Regions from separate parts of the Homo sapiens genome. Here region 1 is linked to region 2. The links are contacts of gene promoters, found by promoter capture Hi-C in blood cells and fetal thymus (Javierre and others, 2016). All regions are on one chromosome and are shown on one strand. The core of a region is centred on a gene start or on the middle of the fragment in contact, and the rest is flanking DNA. Distances in the headings are between cores, read along the strand shown. Region 1 overlaps TMEM209 (transmembrane protein 209). Region 2 holds the start of KLF14 (KLF transcription factor 14).

Evidence for each region. Contacts are between HindIII fragments. The CHiCAGO score rates a contact against its expected background, and 5 or more counts as called.
Region 1: a fragment that was not itself captured here is called in contact with the fragment with the promoter of KLF14 in region 2 in 9 of 17 cell types (endothelial precursors, megakaryocytes, erythroblasts and 6 more); the score reaches 8.9 in endothelial precursors.

What each region holds. Positions count from the first base shown.
Region 1 is chr7:130,187,786-130,194,162 of GRCh38, reverse strand. TMEM209 (transmembrane protein 209) reads left to right here. Exons shown (of 15, transcript NM_032842.4): 6 at 1,340-1,541. LOC124901745 (a long non-coding RNA gene) reads right to left here and starts at 2,083. Exons shown (of 3, transcript XR_007060522.1): 1 at 1,851-2,083. The HindIII fragment of the contact is 4,523 bases long and covers 1,769-6,291 here.
Region 2 is chr7:130,732,568-130,738,627 of GRCh38, reverse strand. KLF14 (KLF transcription factor 14) reads left to right here and starts at 4,421. Exons shown (of 1, transcript NM_138693.4): 1 at 4,421-6,060. The coding sequence starts at 4,595. The coding sequence ends at 5,566. It overlaps LOC105375508 (a long non-coding RNA gene), which reads right to left and starts at 4,364. Exons shown (of 4, transcript XR_927978.3): 1 at 4,246-4,364; 2 at 1,659-1,707; 3 at 638-647. RefSeq lists silencers at 4,608-4,687, 4,758-4,917 and an enhancer at 4,813-5,350. The HindIII fragment of the contact is 4,510 bases long and covers 3,369-6,060 here.

The DNA.
Region 1 (6,377 bases), core at 2,781-5,280, 540 kb after region 2:
CGGTGGTGCAATCTCGGCTCACTGCAAGCTCCGCCTCCCGGATTCCTGCCATTCTCCTGCCTCAGCCTCCCGAGTAGCTGGGACTACAGGTGCCCGCCACCACACCCAGCTAATTTTTTTGTACTTTTAGTAGAGACGGGGTTTCACCATGTTAGCCAGGATGGTCTCGATCTCCTGACCCCGTGATTCGCCCACCTAGACCTCCCAAAGTGCTGGGACTACAAGCGTGAGTCACCGCACCCGGCCTCACAGTGGTTTATTTCTTACAGCTGATGAACCTGCATTGACACGTCATTATCACCCAAAGTGCATAGTTTACATTAGGGTTCACTCTTGGTGTTGTACGTTCTATGGGTTTGGACAAATGTGTAATGACATGTTCACAATTATAGTATCATACAGAATGAAACTGCACCATTTATTCATTCATCTTTTCCTCCAAATTCCTGTTAACCAGTGTTTTTTTTTAATTGCCGCCATAGTTTTGCCTTTTCTAGAACGTCATGTACTTAGAATCATACCCGTGTAGCTTTTCGGATTGGCTTCTTTCACTTAACAATATGCATTTAAGATTGCTTTATGTCTTTTCGTAGCTTGATAGCTCACTTTTTTTTTTTTCTTTTGAGATGGAGTTTCGCTTTTATTGTCCAGGCTGGAGTGCAGTCGCGCGATCTTGGCTCGCCACAACCTCCGCCTCCCGGGGTTTAAGCGATTCTCCTGCCTCAGCCTCCCGAGTAGCTGGGATTATAGGCATGCACCACCACGCCCAGCTAATTTTGTATTTTAAGTAGACACAGGGTTTCTCCATGTTGGTCAGGCTGGTCACCGACCTCAGGTGATCCGCCCACCTCAGCCTCCAAAAGTGCTGGGATTATAGGTGTGAGCCACCGTGCCCAGCAATAGCTCACTTCTTTTTAGTGCTAATACTCCATTACCTAATTTTGCCAGTTTATTTACTCGTTCACCTACTGAAGGGCATCTTGGTTGCTTTCAAGTTTTGGCCATTAGGAATAAAGCTGCCATAAACATACAGGTTTGTGTGTGGCCGTAAGTTTTCAACTCCTTGGGTAATACTAAGGAGCACAATTACTAGTTCGTATGGTAAGATAATATTTACTTTTGTAAGAAACAGCCAGACTGTTTCAAAGTGGCTGTATCATTTTGCATTCCCACCAGCAAAGAATGAGAGATTCTGTTGTTCCACAACCTCATCAGCGTTTGATGTTGTCAGTATTGTGGATTTTCGCCATTCTACTAGGTGTTTTACTTAAGTCAAAAACCAAAACAAAATGAATTTCAATTAAAGAAAAATAAAGTAAAGATCTTTTATTTTGTATAGTTGGCGAGCTTTAGCCCCTCTCCTCCTTCTCCGTACCCTACCACTGTTGGACCAGTGGAGAGCAGTGGATTGAGATCTCGCTACCGTTCTTCACCTACCGTCTACAACTCACCTACTGACAAAGAAGACTACATGACCGACCTACGAACTTTGGATACTTTTCTCAGAAGTGAAGAGGAGAAACAGCATAGGGTTAAGCTGGGTACATATATATTTCTGTATATCTACTATACATATTTTTGGTGTCAATCCTTAACCTACTATTTTCATTATTTTAATATCCATACTAACATACTTTATTAGCTTAGCATGTTTTGTTTTACTTTATATGTAACATTATTTTATGCAGTTAGAATTAAGTTCACTAAATTTAGGAAGTGAAATATAGCTAAACTAAGAAATCTCAAACCTACAATAAGATTGAAAGCTTTTTCGTATAATGTAAGTTACAATTTCTATTTAAAGTTGAGGCTACAAAATAATGTTTTGAAGCAGTGCGTAGTGAACTTACTCAAATTATAGCTGTCTCTTTTCAAGTAGTCTTTTGGAAGGTTGGTGTGGCAGAGCAGGCTGAAAGAGAGAACATGTATTTACTCGAGAAGCGCTGCTGTTTTTCATAACATTTTAAAACTTGCGTTTTAGTATTTCCTGAAAGCCTATAGTTTACCTTGGGAAAGAGTGTTAGCAAATCTTAATCTGTTTGGGGTGAATTTGATTATTACAGAGTCAATTATTTGAAACCAAATTAGGTTATTGAACTGAGTAATGATTTTTCCCCCGTCAGGAACTTTCACGAAAGCATATTAGGCGCTAATACTCAGCTGTGGCGAGGAAGCCGGTTATTGGACCATGACTCTTTGTGTCGCTTGGAGTCTCACCAGTGATTTCTAATTTCATTTTGCCTGAAAGTGCCACAGATGTTACAGAAACCAGTCAATACTATCTTCTTATTTTTGATACATGCTTTTTGAAAAAAATTTGAAATATTTTGAGTCTACTGAAACTTTAATACAGAGTATAATACAAAGAACCTATGTATCCTTGGCACATCTTTGTAATACCCAGATATTTTCTGACTTCACTTTTATTCTTTATCCCAGTAGGAGCTATTTAGAAGTAATATTATTATTGTTTGGAAGTGTTATTGGTGTTGCTTTTAATTTTCAAGCCTGAAAAGGCTTGGTTACCTTTTTTTTCTCCTAAGTTAATTTTACTGTGGTTAGAGAATCTGATCTGTACCTATCAATTTTGTGTTTGTTTGTTTGAGACTTGCTTTTAGGTCTACTATGTGATCACTTTTCTGTAAATGGCTTTGGTATATTGAACAGAATGCAGAGTCTCTAAATTTGGGGCTCTATATTTGTTCACTGTCACACTTCTTGATGGTATTCTTAAATACTTTATCTTACTAATTTTTATCTGCTTTATCTATTGGTTATTAAGAAAGTGTGCCAAAAGCTCCCGTTGATTGTCTTCCATTAAATGTTTTCTTGCAATTCTGTCAGATTTGCTAAGTATACATACGAGATTACGTTAAATGCATGTAAATTCAGAATTGTGAATATCATTCTGGTGAATTATGCCACTTATCTTTATCTCTTAGGCTTTTTGCCTTAAAGTCTATTTTGTCTGACATTGACACATCTATATTAATTTCCTTTTGGTTAGTATCTGGCTGGTATATCTATCTCTATCCCTATACTTTTAGCCCTTCTATACCCATGGGTTTTCGAAAATTAAGTATTTTGTGCAAATTAATAAATGATTAATAAGTATTTTGTGGGAAGCTACTGATCTAAAACTATATAGTTATTTGGTCCCCATCAAACTTTTTTTTTTTTTTTGAGACTAGGTCTCACTGTTGCAGTGGTGCAGTCTTGGCTCGCTGCAGCCTTGAATTCAGCGCTCAGGTGCCTCTCCCACCTCAGCCTCCTGAGTAGCTGGGACTACAGATGCATGCCACCATGCCATGCTAATTTTTGTGTTTTTAGTAGAGACCGGGTTTTGCCATGTTGCCCAGGCTGGTCTCGAACTCCTGAGCTCACACAATCCACCCACTTTGGCCTCCAAAAGTGCTGGGATTATAGGCGTAAGCCATTGTGCCTGACCCCATCAAACTTTGACTTACTAGTTCTAACATCCTTTTAAGATTATTTTCAAAATTATTACTATGTTGGTTGTCATGGAGCTTTCCAATTTCATCATTTCTTCTATGTTTATTCCTTTAACATTTTTCCTTTTTTTTTTTTACTGTAATACAGTATACATAAAATTTACAATATTAGCCTTTTTTTTTTCTTTTTTTGAGATGGAGTCTTGGCTCTGTCGCCCAGGCTGGAGTGCAGTGGTGCGATCTCGGCTTACTGCAACTTCTGCCTCCCAGGTTCAAGCGATTCTCCTGCCTCAGCTTTCCAAGTAGCTAGGATTACAGGCATCTGCCACCATGCCTGGCTAATTTTTGTATTTTTAGTAGAGACAGGGTTTCCCCTTGTTGGCCAGGCTGGTCTCAAACTCCTGACCTCAGGTGATCTGCCCGCCTCGGCCTCCAAAGTGCTGGGAATTACAGCCGTGAGCCACCGCGCCTGGCCCAATATTAGCCATTTGAAGTGTTTAATTAAGTGGTGGTAAGTACATTTACATTATTGTGCAGCTGCCTTTTACATTTATTTGTTGGTATTCTGTAAGATAAAGGTTTCTTCTCCCTAATCATTCACTTATGTTGACGATTTGATTGTCTCAGATTGGGCTAGTGGGATCCTCTGTAAGCTGACTTCTCTGTTCTTTTGACATGACACTATCATTCTTTGAGCTAATCCCCCTGCCCGCGCCACCTTTCTAGCACCACAAAATAGGTCAGGCTCATTTTGTGTTTTCCCTGGCTAGCTCCAGAGTCAGTCTGTTTCTCTAAGAGCCCTGATTCCTTTTAATGGAGAATGATACTTAGAAATTATTATCTGGGCACTGGGCACACTGTTATTATTGAGGTATCATTACTCCAGGTCCTCTAGGAAATATTTGTATGGACATATACACAGATATATGTACACACACACATCTATATGTGTTATTCTATGTTTTTAAAAAACCATGAGTTTATAATGTTACTTCTAGTTCCAGTCCAGCTATACAGTTTATTCTGTCCTCCCCACTTTTCGTATTTGTAACTTTCTCCAGTAGTGAAAAACCAGGCCCTCATATTCTCTCTCTCATGCACACTTTTTTGCTGAATCATTTGAAAGGAAGTTGCGGGCATCATTCCACTTCATTCCTGAATATTTCACATGCATCTCCTAAGACCAAGACATCTTCCTTTATAACTACAATATGGGCTGGGCTCAGTGGCTCACGCTTGTAATCCCAGCACTTTGGGAGGCTGAGGCAGGTGGATCATGAGGTCAGGATTTTGAGACCAGGTCAGGATTTTCTGACCAACATGGTGAAACCCCACCTCTACTAAAAAATTAGCGAGGCTTGGTGACGCGAGCCTGTATCCCAGCCACTCTGGAGGCTGGGGCAGGAGAATCGCTTGAATCCGGGAGGCGGAGGTTGCAGTGAACCGAGATCACACCACTGCACTCCAGCCTGGGTGACAGAGTGAGACTCTGTCTCAAAGAAAAAATAAATAAATGAATAATGACAATATGATTGTCATGCTTAAGATACTATGGGTGTTCATATTCACATTTCCCCAGTTGACCCAATACTGACCCTTGTAGTGCTTTTTTTTTCTTTTATTGATGCAGGATCCAATCAGGTATCACATATTGCATTTACTTGTGCTTCTGTTGTCTCCTTAAATCGAAACCATTTGGATAGTGTGGGTTTTGTGGGATTTTTTGTTTTGTTTTCTTTTATGACATTTACATTTTGAAGAGATGAGGCTGTTGTTTTGAAAATTCAGATTTGTTTGATCATTTTGTTACTGTTAGATTCCGTTTAAATATTATTTTCTGGCAAGAATACAACATGGGTGGTGGCATGTCCTTTTCAGTGTATCACATCAGGAGATACGTGATGCTGCTTTGTCTCTTTGTCGGTAATATATAATAAAATAGGATCACTTGGTTAAGTTGATAGCAACTGGATTTCTTCATGATTTTCCCTTTATGTCCTGTTTCCTTAACAGCCTTTTACCCAGTGATTTTAGCATCTGTTGATGATCCTTGTCCTTGATAAAGTGGTGATTATAAAGTAGAGATTTTCTTTTTTTTTTTTTTTTTTTTTTTTTGATACGGAGTCTCACTCTGTCACCCCGGCTGGAGTGCAGTGGTGTGATCTCGGCTCGCTGCAAGCTCCGCCTCCCGGGTTCATGCCATTCTCCTGCTTCAGCCTCCCGAGTAGCTGGGACTACAGGTGCCTGCCACCACGCCTGGCTAATTTTTTGTATTTTTAGTAGAGACGGGGTTTCACCATGTTAGCCAGGATGGTCTCGATCTCCTGACCTTGTGATCCGCCCGCCTTGGCCTCCCAAAGTGCTGGGATTACAAGTGTGAGTCACTGCGCCTGGCCAAAGTGGAGATTTTCTAATTATTTATTTCTACACTTCATAGTTTGGCATTCTTCTCTAAAGAGGAGCATTCTGTTTTACCCCCACCCCAGCTTTTTTGGTTTAGTCACTGTGGACTCATCAGCTCTTTCTTTAGTAATGTCTAAACTGTTATTTAACTAATTCATTGAGTTTTTTAATTTCAGCCACTTGTTCTCATTTTATAGTTTTATTTGGTCCTTTTCAATTATGCCAGGTTTTTGTAGAATATTTTTTATTCTTATGTTTTCAGTTCCTTTTTCTATCTCAGTTGCTTAAACACACTTTTTAAATGTTATTTGTCCAATAGTTCAATTATCTAAAGTTCTTGGAGGTTAAATACTGACCATTTTTGTCTTGTTGGTTGTTAGGACTGCAGTCTTGTTTCCTTGTGATTGATGTAATTTCTGTTTGTTTCTGGTAAGCTTATCTTGGCTGGATGGAAGCCTTGTCTCTTCCTAGCTGTTTTGTATTTGCCTCTGTCAGGTGCCTTAGGAGTATTATTGACTTTGA
Region 2 (6,060 bases), core at 3,172-5,671:
TAGTATCTAATTTTTTAGGCAGAAAAAAGTGAATGATCAAAATTGACTGAAGAAATAGAAACCCCAAAGAAACCAACAATCATTAAAGAAATTAAATTGAATTTTCAAAATATGATAGTTTCACAGACGAGACTTACCAAATAGTCAAGGAACAAATCATACCTATCTCATCCAAACCGTCACAGAATATAGAAAAAGAAGGAAATTTCCAAATGCATTTTCCTTCTTGCACAAAGTGCAAGAAAGGAAAGTTTTAAACCAATGTCACTTATGAACATCGATGCTAAAATAAAATACATGAAGCACTGTATTAATAACTAACAGTACATCAAGGCAAAGCAGGGTTTAACTCAGGAATGCAAGGGTAGGTTCACATTAGAAATATCTATCAATGTGACCTGTCACTTTAACACAGCAAAGATAAAACCTGTAATCATCTCAATGTTTTTAGAAAAAGCATTTAATAACATTTCAATATTCATTTCATGGTTTAACAATATTCCTACTTTAAGCATAAATGGGATAAAAGGAAACTGATAAAGGGTTTCCACCAAAGACTTACAACAAATATCATAATTATGACACATGAGAAACATTTTCAATCAGATAAAAATAGGAAAACAATGCTTGCACTCACCCTTAACTATCTGATGTTATATTGAAGGTCCCAGCCCATGCAAAGAGATAAGAAAGGGGAAAATGTATTAGGGGTGTTATTTATAGATAATATTATCATTTACATGAAAACACAAGAGAATCTACAAATAAACTATTTAACTAATAAGTTCAGCATGTTTGCCAGCATTATCTAACACAGTTTTCAGGTTATTCCAAAATCTACAGGATCTCTACCAATGACAGTAGCAGCAATGACCAATTTAAACATTTAATAGAAAAGAGATCTCACTTATAATAGCAGCAAAAGCTGTAAGGTACAATAGGAGTAAGTCTAACAAAGAGGTACAATACTTTTATAAACAAATTATAAAATGTTATTGAAAGACATTTAAAAATCAGAATATTAATGTACTAGTTGGCTCAATTTTATGAAGTTGTCATAGCTCCCCAATTTTAACCTATAAATTTAACTAAGCAAAATACCAAAAGAGTTTTTCAATGCAACTTGACAAACTAATGCTAAAGTTAGTATAGAAGAATAGAAGTCCAAAAATAGCCTATACATTCATGAAATTAATAAAGCAGATTCTACAGGTATCAACATGAGTAGCTCTCAAAATCACATGGAGGGAGAAAAGCAAGTTGCAAAATGATGTGTACATTACCTAACAATTTTTTAAATGAACAAAGAGAGGATATGTCCTTCTGCACATCAAGATTTACAAAGCCATGGTAATTAAGACTGTGGTATTGGCTCAAATTTGGTTTGATTAGTGGAAAAGGACAAACTAGAAACACATCCATGAATACATAGAAATTTAATTTACAATCATGGTGGCATTACATATTAATAGGGACACGAAGGACTGTTCAGTAAATCGGGTTACCACACGCCTTCCATATGGGGGTTGGGGGAAAGGGAGGAGTAAAATTATTGAATTCCTACTTTACACCATTCAAAAAAAATAAGTCCCAGATAGATCAATCTCGTGTGGAAAGCAAAACTTTAAAACATTAAGGAAGAAGACATAAGAGGCTACCTTTATGCATCAGGTATGGAGAGGTTTCTTTAATAATCCACAAATGACACTATAAAGAAAGAGATCAATGAATATGAGTACATTTTAAATTGTCTATAGTACAAAAGACATCAAAAGCAGTTAAAAGACAAGCCACAGACTGAGACAATATATTTAATGTTTACACGCATGAATTCCTACAAATCAGGAGGAAAAAAGATAAAACATACACGATCTACTGAAAAAAATGAATGAAGACTGTGAAAAAACAAATCACAGACTTGGAAACCTCAATAACCAACAAACATATGGGGAAAAAATGCTTAACTTTGCTAGCAGTGAGGGAAATTCAAATAAGACAACAAGATACTGTTTTTTAAAATAATCAAATTGGCAGGAATAATAAAAATCTTAATCTAGAAAGTGTTGAAGATCATGTGAGGGAAACGTGAACTGTCACACACTTCTGATGGGTGTGCAAATTGAAGCATTTGGCAGTCTCTCGCAAAACTGAAAATGTGTGTGGAGCCCGGCAATTCCCCATCTAGGTAGATACATAGAGAAATTCTCACATATGTGCAAAGGAAACATGTACAAGTAGTACCAAAATATTGGCAGCAGTTTAATATTCATCAATAGGGGAATGAATAAACAGGACACATTTGTATGCATGGATCCACACTATAGCAATTAAAATGAATGAATTGGATCTATATTTATCAACACGAAGAGAAAAAATAAAAACATACCATGAATGAAAAAAATAAGTCCAAGAATAATATGCACAGCCTAATACCATGTTTGTACATTTAAAAAAATCATATAAACCAATATTCTGCATTTTATAGGTTCACATCCAGTTAAATTGTAAAACCCAGACTGGAAAGTTACATACCAAATTCATGTTAGTGTTTGCCTTTGGGGAAAAGGGTGGAGAATGGTATTGGGGGCAGTACAAGGGGACCTTCAATTTTATCAGAAATGTTGAATACTTAATAGATCTGAGGGAGATATAACAAAATGTTAACATATTCATTATATGAGACAGGTATATGGGTGCTTGTAATGTTCTCTCTGCATTTTAAATATCTTCACATTTTTTCTAAATAATAAAATTAAAACAGCTAGTAAATTATTCTATCTGATAGATTTTAATGTGTAGATTAACGAAGAGTTAATCGTCTAGAGGAACTTCAGAAAAATTAACTGTTTTGCAATGGAATCGCCTTAAAAATAATAACACTGACAATATTATTTAAAAACTGCTGAAATGAATAAAGTAGATTCTATAGGTGTCAACCTGGATAGCTGTCAAAATCATATTGAGGGAAAGAAGTTGCAAAATGATATGTATACTAGTGAACCATTTACTTAAAAATTTTAATAAATAAGCATGGAGATATACATATATTTACATGTATAATTAGGTAATACGGGTATCAAAACAAATGCAGATTAAATAGCCACTTTATAATACTAATTACCTAGAAAAGTGAAGAGGGAGAAAGGTGAATGGAACTGGGGAGGGAAACAAAGTGACATTCAACTCTATCTGTAATGTTTAATATAAATAAAAACATGAAACAACTATAACAAAAATTTCACATTTGATTACCCTAGGCAGTAAATACATGAACGTATGTTATTCTTGATACATACGTATTAATTTTCAAAAGAAAAAGTACTGAAGAACTACAAATAAAATGCACACAATTCACTCATATAAAAGCTTGTATACATCAAAAACTAAGATATGACTATTTTTAGAAATTATCCTGTTTGTTTTTCTATGTAGTTTTACATTTTTAAAAAGAAAAACGAGGGAAAAAATGAGAGCAATGAAGACACGTAAAAGAAACCGTACATGCATTTGATTATAAAAAAGGCAAACCTCCACAATCACAAAACACCATATGAGCATTCTATATCATGTGCTGCATTTCCTTACATTTAACTTTCGTCAAAAGCAAATTACAAGATAATGCCTAATTGGAAACGTGACTTTCTATTATTAAAATGGTGGGAGTCCATTTTAATGTGTTTATCTCGCCGCTAGACTATAATTTATATCTCAGCGTTTAAATTTGTTTGGATGCCAGTGACAGGTTAATGCAGTTTAAACATGCATTTTTCTTTCGTTGGCTGAATAGTTAAATCGTTACTCAAAGGATTTTAAGTTTCAATTTCAACCGGGAGAGGATTCTTTGCTTTTCCAAGGTTAAAACTGTTTCTGGTTCGAGATGCTATTAATTAATGGCTACGTAGCGGATCTATTTAGGGAACTGCTCCCGGCCCCGGGTTCACAGTTGACCTGCTCAATGAGAAAACTTTTTTTGCTACAGACTTGGGGATATTTGCAATTTAGTCTGAGAGCGGCGAACGGGGAGTGAAATGGAATTCGAGACCACTTCGCTAACAATCGCAATTATGAACCGAAAGACATGTCAGGTATTAGCAATTTTTTTCCTTAAAAAAAAAAAAAACTTTCTGGGACTCCGCGGGACACCCAGCTGGCGACGGACCAGCGGGCGGCGGGCTGCGGGGAGGGGGGGCGAGGCTGCTGCAACCCAGAAGTTCCGACTGGGGAGTTTCGCTCTGTTACCATTACCTGGCTCGCCGGCAGAAGAAAGAACGCGGAGACAAGATAATTTCTGAGGCTGTTAAACATGACTTAGCCGGGGGCCGCGCGTTCCGAGGGGGTGTCCTGCGGGCCGGGGCGGGTCTCTGCCGCCCCCGCGGGCTCCGGTGCGTCAGGGGCGCGTCAGGCGGGGCGGGCTCCGCGCGGGCGGCGGCGGCAGCGGCGGCTGCGGCGGCGGCGGCGGCAGCAGGCGGCAGGCGGCGAGCACCCGGCCTCCTGCTTCTCGCTCCGAGGCTGCGGGACGGACGCTCCCGGGAACTCCGTCGCCCGCGGCCGGCCGCGTTCGGACGGCGCTCGCCGGCGGCCGGGCGGTCCCAGCATGTCGGCCGCCGTGGCGTGCCTGGACTACTTCGCCGCCGAGTGCCTGGTGTCCATGTCCGCGGGCGCCGTGGTTCACCGCCGCCCGCCGGACCCCGAGGGCGCGGGTGGAGCCGCTGGCTCGGAGGTGGGTGCGGCGCCGCCGGAGTCCGCTCTGCCGGGTCCGGGGCCACCGGGGCCCGCGTCGGTCCCCCAGCTCCCGCAGGTCCCCGCCCCCAGCCCCGGCGCGGGCGGCGCCGCGCCCCACCTGCTGGCTGCAAGCGTCTGGGCGGACTTGCGCGGCAGCTCTGGCGAGGGCTCCTGGGAGAACTCGGGGGAAGCTCCACGCGCCTCGTCCGGCTTCTCCGACCCGATCCCGTGCTCCGTCCAGACCCCGTGCTCCGAGCTGGCTCCCGCCTCCGGCGCCGCGGCGGTCTGCGCTCCCGAGAGCTCCTCCGATGCGCCCGCCGTCCCAAGCGCGCCTGCTGCCCCGGGCGCACCAGCAGCCTCTGGTGGGTTCTCTGGAGGGGCCCTAGGGGCAGGCCCCGCCCCCGCCGCGGATCAGGCGCCCCGGAGGAGGTCTGTCACACCTGCTGCCAAGCGCCACCAATGCCCCTTCCCGGGCTGCACCAAAGCCTATTACAAGTCGTCGCACCTCAAGTCCCACCAGCGCACCCACACGGGTGAGCGCCCTTTCTCCTGCGACTGGCTCGACTGCGACAAGAAGTTTACGCGTTCCGACGAGCTGGCCCGCCACTACAGGACGCACACGGGCGAGAAGCGCTTCTCCTGCCCCCTCTGCCCCAAGCAGTTCTCCCGGAGCGACCACCTGACCAAGCATGCTCGCCGCCACCCAACCTATCATCCAGATATGATCGAGTACCGGGGACGTCGTCGAACTCCCCGCATCGACCCGCCACTCACCAGCGAGGTGGAAAGCTCCGCCTCCGGCTCCGGTCCCGGCCCGGCGCCCAGCTTCACCACCTGCCTGTAGGACAGTCATTGCTGTCAGTCTTACCCTCAAGGATGATCCCCCAGGCCGTTGTCCCTGCTTTCTCTCTGCCCATCCTTCTTTCCCAGAGTCATTACACCAAGGCACAGACTGGTTCCTCTGCTCTGAGGGTGGGTCCAGGCAGACATGTGGACTCTGGGGAGGTACTGGGGGCCGGAAAATAGCGGGAATTCTTGCAACGTGTATATCATCCTAAAAGTGGGGGTTGCCTCAAGACAGCCCCCAGGAACTGATAAGAAGGGATGAACTCCCGTACTCTCCAGAGTACTGAAGATTCTCCCCTCCCTGGAACCAGGGATGTGAAACTGGAATTCTCAGATGCCTGAGGAGCTCCCAGTCTCAAAGGACTCTGGTGTCTCACCCATCCACCAGGGCGGACCTTGGAGAGGGTGTCAGGGGTGGCAGTCTTGGAAATGTCCAGGACTGGGATGGTGAGAGGCCTTTGGAAACAGAAATGATTTCTATTTCTGTAAACA